4 separate regions of the Homo sapiens genome follow, and all the other regions are linked to region 1. The links are contacts of gene promoters, found by promoter capture Hi-C in blood cells and fetal thymus (Javierre and others, 2016). All regions are on one chromosome and are shown on one strand. Each heading gives the region's core, a stretch centred on a gene start or on the middle of the fragment in contact. The rest is flanking DNA. Distances are from core to core; before and after follow the strand shown.

Region 1 (2,700 bases), core at 118-2,617:
CATTTTCCATTGTCACCAAACAGCAACCAAAAAGACCGAAGAGACTTAATAAAGACAGTAGTCACTTGTTCTTATTCTGAAGACAGAAAACTTAACACCAGGTAAAGGAAATGGAATAAAATAAGCTAAATGCATGAGGTAGGCCCCTAACTTCTGACAACACGCCCCATCGATTTCCTTTCTGAAAGCAGAAATTCAAACGAACCAACCACCTGCTTTTGGACAGCTCAACTTAGGACTTGCTCTCAAGCCAACACAATTTTCTACAAAATCGTAGGCAGCTACAACCGCTCCTTGATTAAATGCGACAAACTGGAGGGAAAAAGTCACTTACAAATACCTACATGCTGGTTTTTAATGCAACTCTCAGTGTGGTTTTCCGAGGGGGCTGCAAAGAGGGAAGTAGTGGAAGAAACGAGTTCTAAAATGAGGCGCTCTCGTAGGAGGCAACAAGTAAGCTCTGCCCCAAAGCTCCTTTTAAAACCAACATAAATGAGTAACAGAAGAAAAGGATTTTGGGTCCAGGAAGTAGGCTCATTCTCCATAACCATCGGAAAGGAAGAGGCCCAGGCAGCGCTCCACATCCTGACCCTAGCTTTTAACACCATCGTTTTGGGGAGAGGAGAGGAGGAACGCACCCACAGTGAGGTCTCCACCCAACACTTCTCCGACCCCAGCTTCAGCCTGGCGCACCTTCCTTCCCAAACCCGCCTCTCCCGCCTCGGAGACCCCCTCCTCCTCCCTGCCACCAAAGGCCACGCAGCCCCCATCTAGCCAGTCCTCACGGACCCTGGACCAAGACGCGCCTCCTGGAGGCCGAGACTGCCCGAAACCCGGCCCCTGCGTCCACCGGGAGCGCCACACTCTGGCAGCTGACCGGCGGCTGTCGCCGGGGGTAAGGTTACCGCTCCGCTTCCGCGGCTGGCCTGCGACCCGGCCACCTGCAGGGCCTGGCAGGCGCCCGAACTCATCCCCTTCCCGCGGCCCGCCCCGGGCCGGGCCCTGCCGCCCCCCGCGACCCCTCGCGACCCGCGGCGAGTCCCACGGTCCCCACCGCCCCCCGCTGGCCGGCCCCCGCCCCGTTTCCCGGGCGTCCCGCGGCGTCAGCACCGCCCCCGCTGCCGCTCACCCGGGCCGGGACAGTCTTGCGTCGGAGAGACAGTGCAGCGCGAGAGGGCCGGGAGAGGACGCCGGAGGGAAAGGAAGGGGGAGCGCGCCCAGCACCGCTTGGGCCTCCTCCACCCGCTCAGGAGGGGAAACACGAGAGCCGGGAGCACAACAGCCTCGCACGCCCGCCGCCGCCGCGCGCCCGCCGCCGCCTCAGCCTTAGGGGAGACCACTACGCCTCGTGCCCGCGCACGCCGCGCCGCTCTCCTCGGCGCCCCCGCCCCGCCTGCTCCTCGCAGCCCCGCCCATGTGCCTTTCTGCGGCTGCCTCCTTCTGGCCCCCACCCCGCTCGCACGCCTGCGCCCTGGCTGGTCGCGCGGGCCAATGGCAGCGCGCCCCTATTACATAAGCGCGAGGGGGCGGGCCCTGGCTGACACAAACTTCAGGGGACGTCGCCTTCTGTCCCCAGGCGCCCCTCCTCTCCGGCGCGCTCGGTCCGGGCGGCTTCTTCACCCAGCCCTGGGAGCCACGTGATCCCGGTCCTGGTTGGTGACCGGGCCGCGGCGTGTTTCACAAGTCGCTCGCTCGCTCATCCACTCGGGCGGCGGCCGGGCCTCAGGCGCTGCGACCCTTTTCCCGCTCCTCCCAGGCTGACGCGCCCGTCTCGGCGCCGCCCTCCTCGGCACCGACTGAGGCGCTGGCCCGGGAGCGGATCGCGGGGCCGCGGTGGCTGAGTCACATTCCCGGAGCCCCGCCACCCAGGACACCGCGGCCCCGGCCCCCAGCGAGCCCGGCGGACCCAGCGGCTCTGAACGCGGACGCACAGCCTTTGTTCTTTCACAGCCGCCCTTTACCTCACTCCCATGGAAACCCCAGGTGTTTTCCCAAGCTGGGGGCTTTTAGTGAGTTCAAGATTCAAGCCTAAGTCGTATTAAAAATTGCTGGCTAGGCCGGGCGCGGTGGCTCACGCCTGTAATCTCAGCGCTTTGGGAGCCCAAGGCAGGAGGATCACTTGAGCCCAGGAGTTCCAGACCAGCCTGAGTACATAGCGAGACCCACGTCTCCACAAAAATAAAATAAAATAAAATAAATAGTGGAGCATGGTGGCCCGCGCCTGTAGTCCCAGCTACTCGGGAGGCTGAGGTGGGAGAATCGCTTGAGGCCGGGAGGTGAAGGTTGCGGTAAGCCGAGATCGCGCCATTGCACTCCATCCTGGGCGACTGAGTGAGACCCTGCCTAAAAAAAAAAAAAAACAAAAAAAGAAAAAAAAATTGCTGGCCAGGCTTCCCGGAGGGGTTTAGTTTGACTGCTAACAATATACGGTACTGAGTTGCTAATCCTTCGGGGAATGGTTAAAGTTCTTTGCGCGCGCTCTCTCTCCATTTACAGGCAGTGGCAGCAAACTTTCAATATCTGACAAGAGCAATGGCGATTATAACCATGATTAAAATTGCTGAATATCTGGAAACAGTACTTTAGACATCAGCTTTATTGTGCATACTTACCCCCGACCCCCGCCACATTCGTTTCTAATTAGAACTACTAGTGACAAAGGAGAAAAAAAAAAAGTGTTTGCATTGGCTGTTCTCACCT
Region 2 (2,700 bases), core at 73-2,572, 990 kb after region 1:
CTACCAGCTCTCACCACCCCCACCCCCATCCCAGGCCACCAGCCCTTTGAGATGGGTTGGAACTCTCTGCCAATTAGAGGTGACTGGGGGATTCTGGGGAAAGCATAAGCTTTGGTATCAATTAGAACTGGGACAGAAATCTGGATCTATCTGTATCACTTTAAACAAGGAGCAGAACCTCTCTGAAACTCATCTTGAAAATGAGAGAAATGTTTTATTTCCTTTTCTCATTTATGTGTTGACCCCACTCAGAGGGCAGACATTGTGTCTGTCTTGTCCACGGTTTTATCTCCATTACCTAACACAGTGCCTGGCACTTAGAAGACAATAAATATTTGTGGAGGGAAGGAGGAAAAAAATACTTTCCCTATAGGATTGTTAAGAGCACTAAATGAGATAACATATGTAAGAATCTGAGTTACATGTGCTCTATAAATGATGGATTCTAACCACCAGCTTATTTTGATTACATGACACCAGGCTTCTTGTTTCAGCTAATTATCATTGTCACCTCATCCATTCATTCATTGCAGAAATACTGAGCACCTGCTACAAGTAATGCAGGACAATAAAAACGTAAAGAGCATGGTCCCTACCTTAAAGCGGCTCAGTTACAATTTCAGTATACCATGTGCCACAGCGGTCATAAGTACAGAGAGCCATGAGCACACAGAGACTAGCCAGGAAAGGATGTAGGAGCAGGGAAAAATCTGGAGGTGGAGAAAAACTTCCTATGTTGAACTCTGGTGCCCATTGACAAAGCTGAGTCCCTGGAAATGAGTAGATGATGAATTTTATCACACACAAAAGATATGCTTGGAATAATTTTTTACCAGTCTCTTTCCTCAGAGATGTATCTGGATGTTGCCTTTAGCTGGTTAGACTCTGTCTCTTGGAGAACTGTATGAAGGGCAGTCCAAGTTCTCTGAGACTTTTGGCTCCAACAGATCCAAACCACCAGACAGCAGGAATTAGAAACAGGTGCTACCTATGGTCTGTGTATTAGTCCGTTCTCGCACTGCTATAAAGAAACTGAGACTTGTTAATTTATAAAGAAAAGAGGCTTAACTGACTCACGGTTCCTCAGGCCGTACAGGTAGCATGGCTTGGGAGGCCTCAGGAAACTTTCAATCACAGCAGAAGGTGAAGGGAAAGCAGGCATATCTCACATGGCCGGAGTAGGAGGAAGAGAGCAAAGTGGGAAGTGCTACACACTTTTAAACGATCAGATCTCGTGAGAACTCACTCACTATCATGAGAACAGCAAGGCGGAAGTTGGCCCCCTTGATCCAATCACCTCCCAATAGGCCCCTCCTCTAACACTGGGGATTACAATTCAACATGAGATTCGGGCGGGTCCACAAATCCGAAACATATCAGTCTGGAATTTAAATAAATTGAAGCAAGCATATCTTTATTTGCCACCAATTTATTACCCTAAGTTCTGGGCAAGACTTCTTGGAAAACTCCTCTAAATTTTTTGAGCAGCATCTAACATTTTACACAGTAGACCACGTGATGTGTTCTCAGGTTTCCAAAATTTGTCATATGCAGCCACTGGCCGGACATGCCATTGTGAGTTTCACCTGTACTATTTCTTTTCTTAACGTTTTTAAATTATTTTACTTAAAAAAAAAAAACTATTCAGGATCAGGCGTGGTGGCTCACACCTGTAACTGCAGCACTTTGGGAGGCCGAGGTGGGCAGATCACTTGAGGTCAGGAGTTCGAGACCAGCCTGGCCAACATGGTGAAACCCTGTCTCTACGTGTCTCTACTACAAATACAAAAATTAGCCGGGCATGGTGGCATGTGCCTGTAATCCCAGCTACTTGGGAGGCTGAGGCAGGAGAATCACTTGAACCTGGGAAGCAGAGAGCCGGGATCAGTGAGCCGAGATCACACCACTGCACTCCAGACTGGACGAAAGAGCAAGACTCCATCTCAAAAACAAACAAACAAACAAACTAAACTTTTCAAAGAAGATTTTCCAGATGTAATTAAAAAACAAGTATCAACTGCCCTTGCAGTCCCAATGTCTTCAAACATTATTGCCATTCCAGTCATGAAGTGATGCTCAAACACAATTCTCAGCAAGCCATGCCGCATGACCTTGAGACGGACAAATGAAGCTCTAAATTGACACCTGCCAATGGAGTGTGTTATGGAGGGTGTGTAGCTCAAAGGGATCGTATCCCACCAAAAAATCATCTTGACTTCCACCAGCTAGCAATAGAAATTTGGGTGCACTCAGTGAAAAGATGATGCGATTTAAACCATGATGCCTGGGTTGGGGTCATGCCTCTACCCCTTACTAGTTGTGTGACTTTGGACAGGAACTTAACTTCTCTGAGCTTCAAGTCCCAAATATCATTGTTATCATAATAATAATGATATTATTATGACAGCAATTTCTCATAAAATTGGTGAGCCAATGAAATTATTGCAATGGTATGACTGCAAAATCACCTTGTAAACTCTAAAGTATGCATAAATATTTATTAATTTCCTGAGAAATAAATCTTCCAAGATACAGTGAAGCTTACACTTTTACTGTCAGAACTTGGACATTATCATTATTGATGAGAGACTATAAAGAACATGGCCTTTGACCATTACTCAGACAATTGAGTAGGCGACAGGAGAATGTTTCTCACCCCTTCTTTCTATGATGTGTAAACATGCTAAGCTGGAGAAATGA
Region 3 (2,700 bases), core at 158-2,657, 950 kb before region 1:
TATATAATTTGATATACAATTACCTTTTGCATCTTTCTAAATTATATGACCCCTATTCACTGTTCAAGGTAAACCTAATATTACTTTTTAATTTAACTTTAAAGTTCAGGGGTACATGTGCAGGTTTGTTATATAAGTAAACTTGATAAGTTATATTTTTCTTTTATTGTTTGCTTTTCCATAAGTTACTATTTTAAAAGTGCTCGGAAAGTATTTCACACTTCAAAGCACTGTAAAAGTGTTTAATACAAACATTCACAAGTGATAATTGTACAGTGATATCCCAAAGAATCTGGAGATAAACCATTGGAATTAAAAGAGTAAGATTCACCAGATACAAAATTGTTAATACAAAATCAATGGCATTTCTCTATACTATTAGTTACAAACAGAAAATGAGGCTGGGCGTGGTGACTTATGCCTGTAATCCCAGCACTTTGGGAGGCCGAAGCAGGTGGATCACTGGAGGTCAGGAGTTTGAGACCAGCCTGGCTAACATAACGAAACCCCTTCTCTACTAAAAATACAAGAAATTAGCTGGGCGTGGTGGTGGGACACCTGTAATCCCAGCTACTCAGGAGGCTGAGGCAGGAGAAACACTTGAACCCAGGAGGCAGAGGTTGCAGTGAGCTGAGATCGCACCACTGCACTCCAGTCTGGGCAACAAGAATGAAACTCTTTCTCAAAAAGAAAGAAAGAAAATGACATTTTAAAAATATACATTATAGGATAAAAAATATCAAGTACCTGGGAATGAAATTTAACAAAAGATGTAAAAGAATTCTATGGGGATAATTATAGATTCAATGTAATCCCAATCAAAATTAGTGAAACACAACAAGGTTATTCTAATATGTTTATGGAAATATAAAGTGCCAAGGACAGTCAAGACACCATCCAAGGAAAAAACAGTGGCAGACTTGCCCTATTAGATAGCAAATTCAGATTCCAAGACTGATGTCTAAATTGTCCACTAACTCACCTTGGAGATGTTTCTGAAAATGCTCATTCACCAGGTATGTTTTTACATGGTTCCTTCATTTCCTTTAGATCTTGGGACAAATGTCTTCTAGAGACTTTTCCTGTTCTGCCCTGTATAAAACAGTACTGCTTCCCCAAAATCCCAGTCACTCTTATTGTGCCCACCTCTAATTTTTCATAGCAATCATCATCTGGTTATTTTACATCTCGTTCCATTATTTTAAGCTACATGCATATGTTTATTATTTTTGTATCCTCCAAATTCTAATACAAGCCCTCTGAAGCCAGGGTGTTTGTTTATTTGGTACTATGCTGTATTTCCAGCATCTACTTTGTTGAACGAATAAATTGGTAGAAGTCACAAAAATTCTGACTAGCATATGATGTACAGTGATCCAATCTGAACTAAATTTTAAAACTGCAAACTTTTTCATATCCAGCTATTAAATAATAGCCACCCTAAATAACATAACTCTCCCCAAGTTTAGAATACTATTTTTGGCATTCAAAAATCAACCAGTATGTAAACACTGGCTGTTAAGCAATGATATCTCATGCTCTAGTGAAGGAAATAAATGAAACAACAAATCCATTAAAAGGAACCATATGAAATGCAGCCTTGAGAAAAGAATTTTTTTCCTTAGATCCAAGTACAGACTAGAATCTGTAAGAAGCGTGATGACTGTGAATGGAAAGGCAAAACAATCTATGGAGCAGGAGTTTCTTTTGCTCATGTCATGTAGCAATTAATAGCTCCGATAGTTTTCAACACATACTTTATCCTTTGGTGATTTGTCTATATGTTTACCTAAATAACAGGCTAGGGAAAGTCTTACATGTTTACAAATTAACACAATTTCCAGGAAAAATAAGTTAGGAGTGGTGGATTATGTGCATTTAATATAAAAAGCTAACTAATTAAGTGCTCTGAAGCTGGGAATTTGTACAATGAAGTGAATCTACCAGTTAAATTGGTGGTCTACATAATCAACAGTAGGATATACTATTATAATCTTTGTATTTCTTTTCTCTCATTACCAGATGATTTTTCCAACAGGCTTTAAAGTACAAAGAGTTTTAACAAGATTTCAGTGAGTTAAGGTTTATTTTGAATACCCTGGAGGTATCTCTTGTTCAAGGCTAGCCCAGAGTTGAGTTCCAGGGAAAACTGGCTTGGTCCTAAATTAATCCAACTTTGAAGGATACAGGAGACAAGGAATTTCTGAAGCTAGTTGAAAGGTCCAGGAGACAAGGAATTTTTGAAGCTAGTTTTAAGGTGAGACTGAAGTGGTACTGGTTGGGAGTATCACCAGAAGTAGGTGTAGGGTGAATGAATGCACCAGCCTCCTATAGGGCACTATTTTTGCTGTATTCCTCTGAAGATCATTTAGCTTTCCATTTCATCTTTAGCCTTTTAAAGAAATGTCAACAAGGCAGTCAACATATTCATAAGATTATTTTGGCCGAGCATGGTGGTTCACGCCAGTAATCCCAGGACTTTGGGAGGCCGAGGTGGGTGGATCACTTGAGCTCAGGAGTTTGTGACCACCCTGGGCAACATGGCGAAACCTCGTCTCTACTAAAACACACAAAAAAATTAGCCGGGCGTGGTGATGTTTGCCTGTAATCCCAGCTACTTGGGAGGCTGAGGCACGAGAACTGCTTGAGCCCAGGAGGCGGAGGTTGCAGTGAGCTGAGATCGCACCACTGCACTCGAGG
Region 4 (2,700 bases), core at 16-2,515, 990 kb before region 1:
AATTATGAATAGAGATACTTTTACTTTCTTTCCAATTTGGATGCCTTTTATTTCATTTTAGTGCCTAATTGATCAGTCTACAACTTTTAGTACAGTGTTGAATAGCCGTGGTGAAAATGGGCATCCTTGTCTTGTTGCTGATGTTTAAGGGAAAGCTTTCATTACTTTTATCTTTGAATATGATGTTGGCTCTGGGTTTTTCATAAATATACTTTATTATGTTGAGGAATTTCACTTCTATTCCTAGTTTTCTGAGTTTTTTTTTTTTTTAAATCATGAAAGCATGTTGGATTTTGTCATGCCTTTTCAGCATCAATTGTGGGATCATGTATGCAATTCTTTACTTTTTCTGTTAATGAGGTGTGTTGGCATTGATTGATTTTCTAATGCTGAACTACCTTTGTATTCCTGGGATAAATCCCACTTGGCCATGGTGTATAATCCATTCAGTATGCTGTTGAATCTGTTCGCTAGTATTTTGCTGAGGATTTTTGGTCTATCAACTACTCACACTACCCTACTTGAGGCTACACTGTTGGCCATTCATTCCTTTGATAGTTGTTATTGTTGACTCCTTTCTTCCCAAACTACTCTTGGTGTTTCTGAGGCAGTATGCGCTCCTGTTTTTTTCTCTCATTTCTAGGCATTTCTGTGCCTACACTGTAGATTTTTCCTCTCTTCATCCTTTAAGTGTTAGTATATCTCAGGGATCCTTATGAGCCTTTGAGTGATCCCATCCACATCCAAACTTTTATTTTTATTTTTTGTAGAGATGGAGTCTTGCTATGTTGCCCAGGCTTGCTTCAAACTAGTGGCCTCAAGCAATCCTCCTGCCTCAGCCTGCCAGAGTGCTAGGATTATAGGGGTGAGCCACCTTGCCAGTTCCACACCCAAACTTTTTTTTTTTTTTGAGATGGAGTTTTGCCCTGTCGCCCAGGGTGGAGTGCAATGGTGTGATCTTGGCTCACTGCAACCTCCACCTCCCGGGGTCCAAATGATTCTCCTGCCTCAGCCTTTTGAGTAGCTGGGATTACAGGCACCTGATACCATGCCCAGCTAATTTTTGTATTTTTAGTAGAGACAGGGTTCACCATGTTGGCCAGGGTGGTCTCGAACTCCTGACCTTGTGATCTGCCTGCCTCAGCTTCCTAAAGTGCTGGGATTACAGGCATGAGCCACCGTGCCCGGCCCCAAACTTTTATATATTAGTAACTCCCAAGTCACTGTCTCTGGATAAGGCCACTTCTCTGATCTACATGTAGAGCCACCCTCTGAACAGCTCCATTGCATTGTCCCACGGGTATCCCAACACCCAACAGAACTCACAAGTCTTTCATGTTTGGGCCTCTGTTTACCTGTCCAGAGACTATCAAAGTTGTTCAGAGCCATTTCAATCTTAAGGTAAGAATGCTTTGCATTCAGTTCAAATCTGGGTTATGGCTGGGCACAGTGGCTCATGCCTGCAATCCCAGGACTTTGGAAGGCCAAGGAGAGAGGACTGCTTGAGACCAGGACTTTGAGACCATCCTGGACAACATAGCAAGGCCTCATCTGTATAAAAAATTTTAAACATTAGCCAGGCATGGTGGCTGGCTCTCACCTGTAGTCCCAGCTGCTCTGGAAGCTAAGGGGAGGATTGCCTGCCCCAGAGGTTGAGGCTGCAGTGAGCTATGATGGCACCATTGCACTCCACCCTGGGCAATAGAGCAAGACCCTGTGTCAAAATAAATACAAACAAATAATAAAAATAAAAACAAGTCCGAGTTATGCTGGCTTCTAGCTCTGTGTACTAGAGCGCATTCCTTAGCTTCTTGTTTCTCTGTTGCCTCATTTGTAAAGTGGGAATGATAATACTTGGTATTAGGATTAATGTGATCCATATCAAGTTCTAAATGAACTGCAGCTCTTTAGTGATAGCATTGGTCAGACCCGAGGGGATACTGTGCAAAGGGGTGGAAAGTAATACCAAGCTGACCATTGTTTCTGCCGACCCTGACTTTTGTGCTTTCACCCAGTTTCTGGTGGAGAACCTGATTGACAGAAACCAGATTAAAACTGGAGCCTTACTCTAATAACCCTACTGGGTTTAATCTGCAGATTTATCTTTATAGCAAAATCTTTTTATTGTTTTAATAATTAAGATCCCTTTGGCTGGTGATCCAAATTGGATGTTATTCTGCTGTATAGAAAACAGTATTTATTAATGTGTTTTTATACTTGATGCTTGTCTTAAGGTGATCATCCACTGATTTTCACTTAAATAATTGTGCTTTTCTATTCCCTCTGTCTCTGTGCTTAAAATCTTGGCTTTACCATTCATGAAAAAGAATGGAAAATATATCCATTAAGAATCAGATAAGAATTCGTTAAAAGAGAAAGCTTGGAAATCTCTATATTTAAGTACTTTTTAACGGTGCTGTGAAATGATTAATTGCTTTGTTTTAAATATTGCTAAGACACCATAAATTAAATATTTACACATCCTTTTTATATTTAAAAATAGATTCAACAATTATTAAAGCTATTAATACCTGAACTCCTAATCAAAATCAAAGAAATTTTTAGTTTGAATAAGGCAATGGGATGGAAAATTTGCTGTGTTTTTAAGGCTCCCTTTAAGTTTAAAAACTAGGTGCCTAATTTGTGACTTTTTTGCTAAATTCACTTTTAAAATGACTTAAAAATCACTTACGCTTTATT

Evidence for each region. Contacts are between HindIII fragments. The CHiCAGO score rates a contact against its expected background, and 5 or more counts as called.
Region 2: a fragment that was not itself captured here is called in contact with the fragment with the promoter of ZNF706 in region 1 in 1 of 17 cell types (endothelial precursors); the score reaches 5.5 in endothelial precursors.
Region 3: a fragment that was not itself captured here is called in contact with the fragment with the promoter of ZNF706 in region 1 in 1 of 17 cell types (neutrophils); the score reaches 5.1 in neutrophils.
Region 4: a fragment that was not itself captured here is called in contact with the fragment with the promoter of ZNF706 in region 1 in 1 of 17 cell types (neutrophils); the score reaches 6.8 in neutrophils.

Annotation. Positions count from the first base shown.
Region 1 is chr8:101,204,306-101,207,005 of GRCh38, forward strand. It overlaps ZNF706 (zinc finger protein 706), which reads right to left and starts at 1,368. Exons shown (of 4, transcript NM_016096.5): 1 at 1,130-1,368. RefSeq lists silencers at 903-1,502, 1,713-1,932. The HindIII fragment of the contact is 4,829 bases long and covers 1-2,700 here.
Region 2 is chr8:102,198,320-102,201,019 of GRCh38, forward strand. No RefSeq gene overlaps it. Among named protein-coding and RNA genes, the nearest start is that of RRM2B, 39 kb to the right of the region's middle. The HindIII fragment of the contact is 2,431 bases long and covers 108-2,538 here.
Region 3 is chr8:100,253,784-100,256,483 of GRCh38, forward strand. No RefSeq gene overlaps it. Among named protein-coding and RNA genes, the nearest start is that of RNF19A, 55 kb to the right of the region's middle. The HindIII fragment of the contact is 5,674 bases long and covers 1-2,700 here.
Region 4 is chr8:100,209,936-100,212,635 of GRCh38, forward strand. The region is part of intron 10 of SPAG1 (sperm associated antigen 1); the gene reads left to right. Among named protein-coding and RNA genes, the nearest start is that of SPAG1, 53 kb to the left of the region's middle. The HindIII fragment of the contact is 2,224 bases long and covers 154-2,377 here.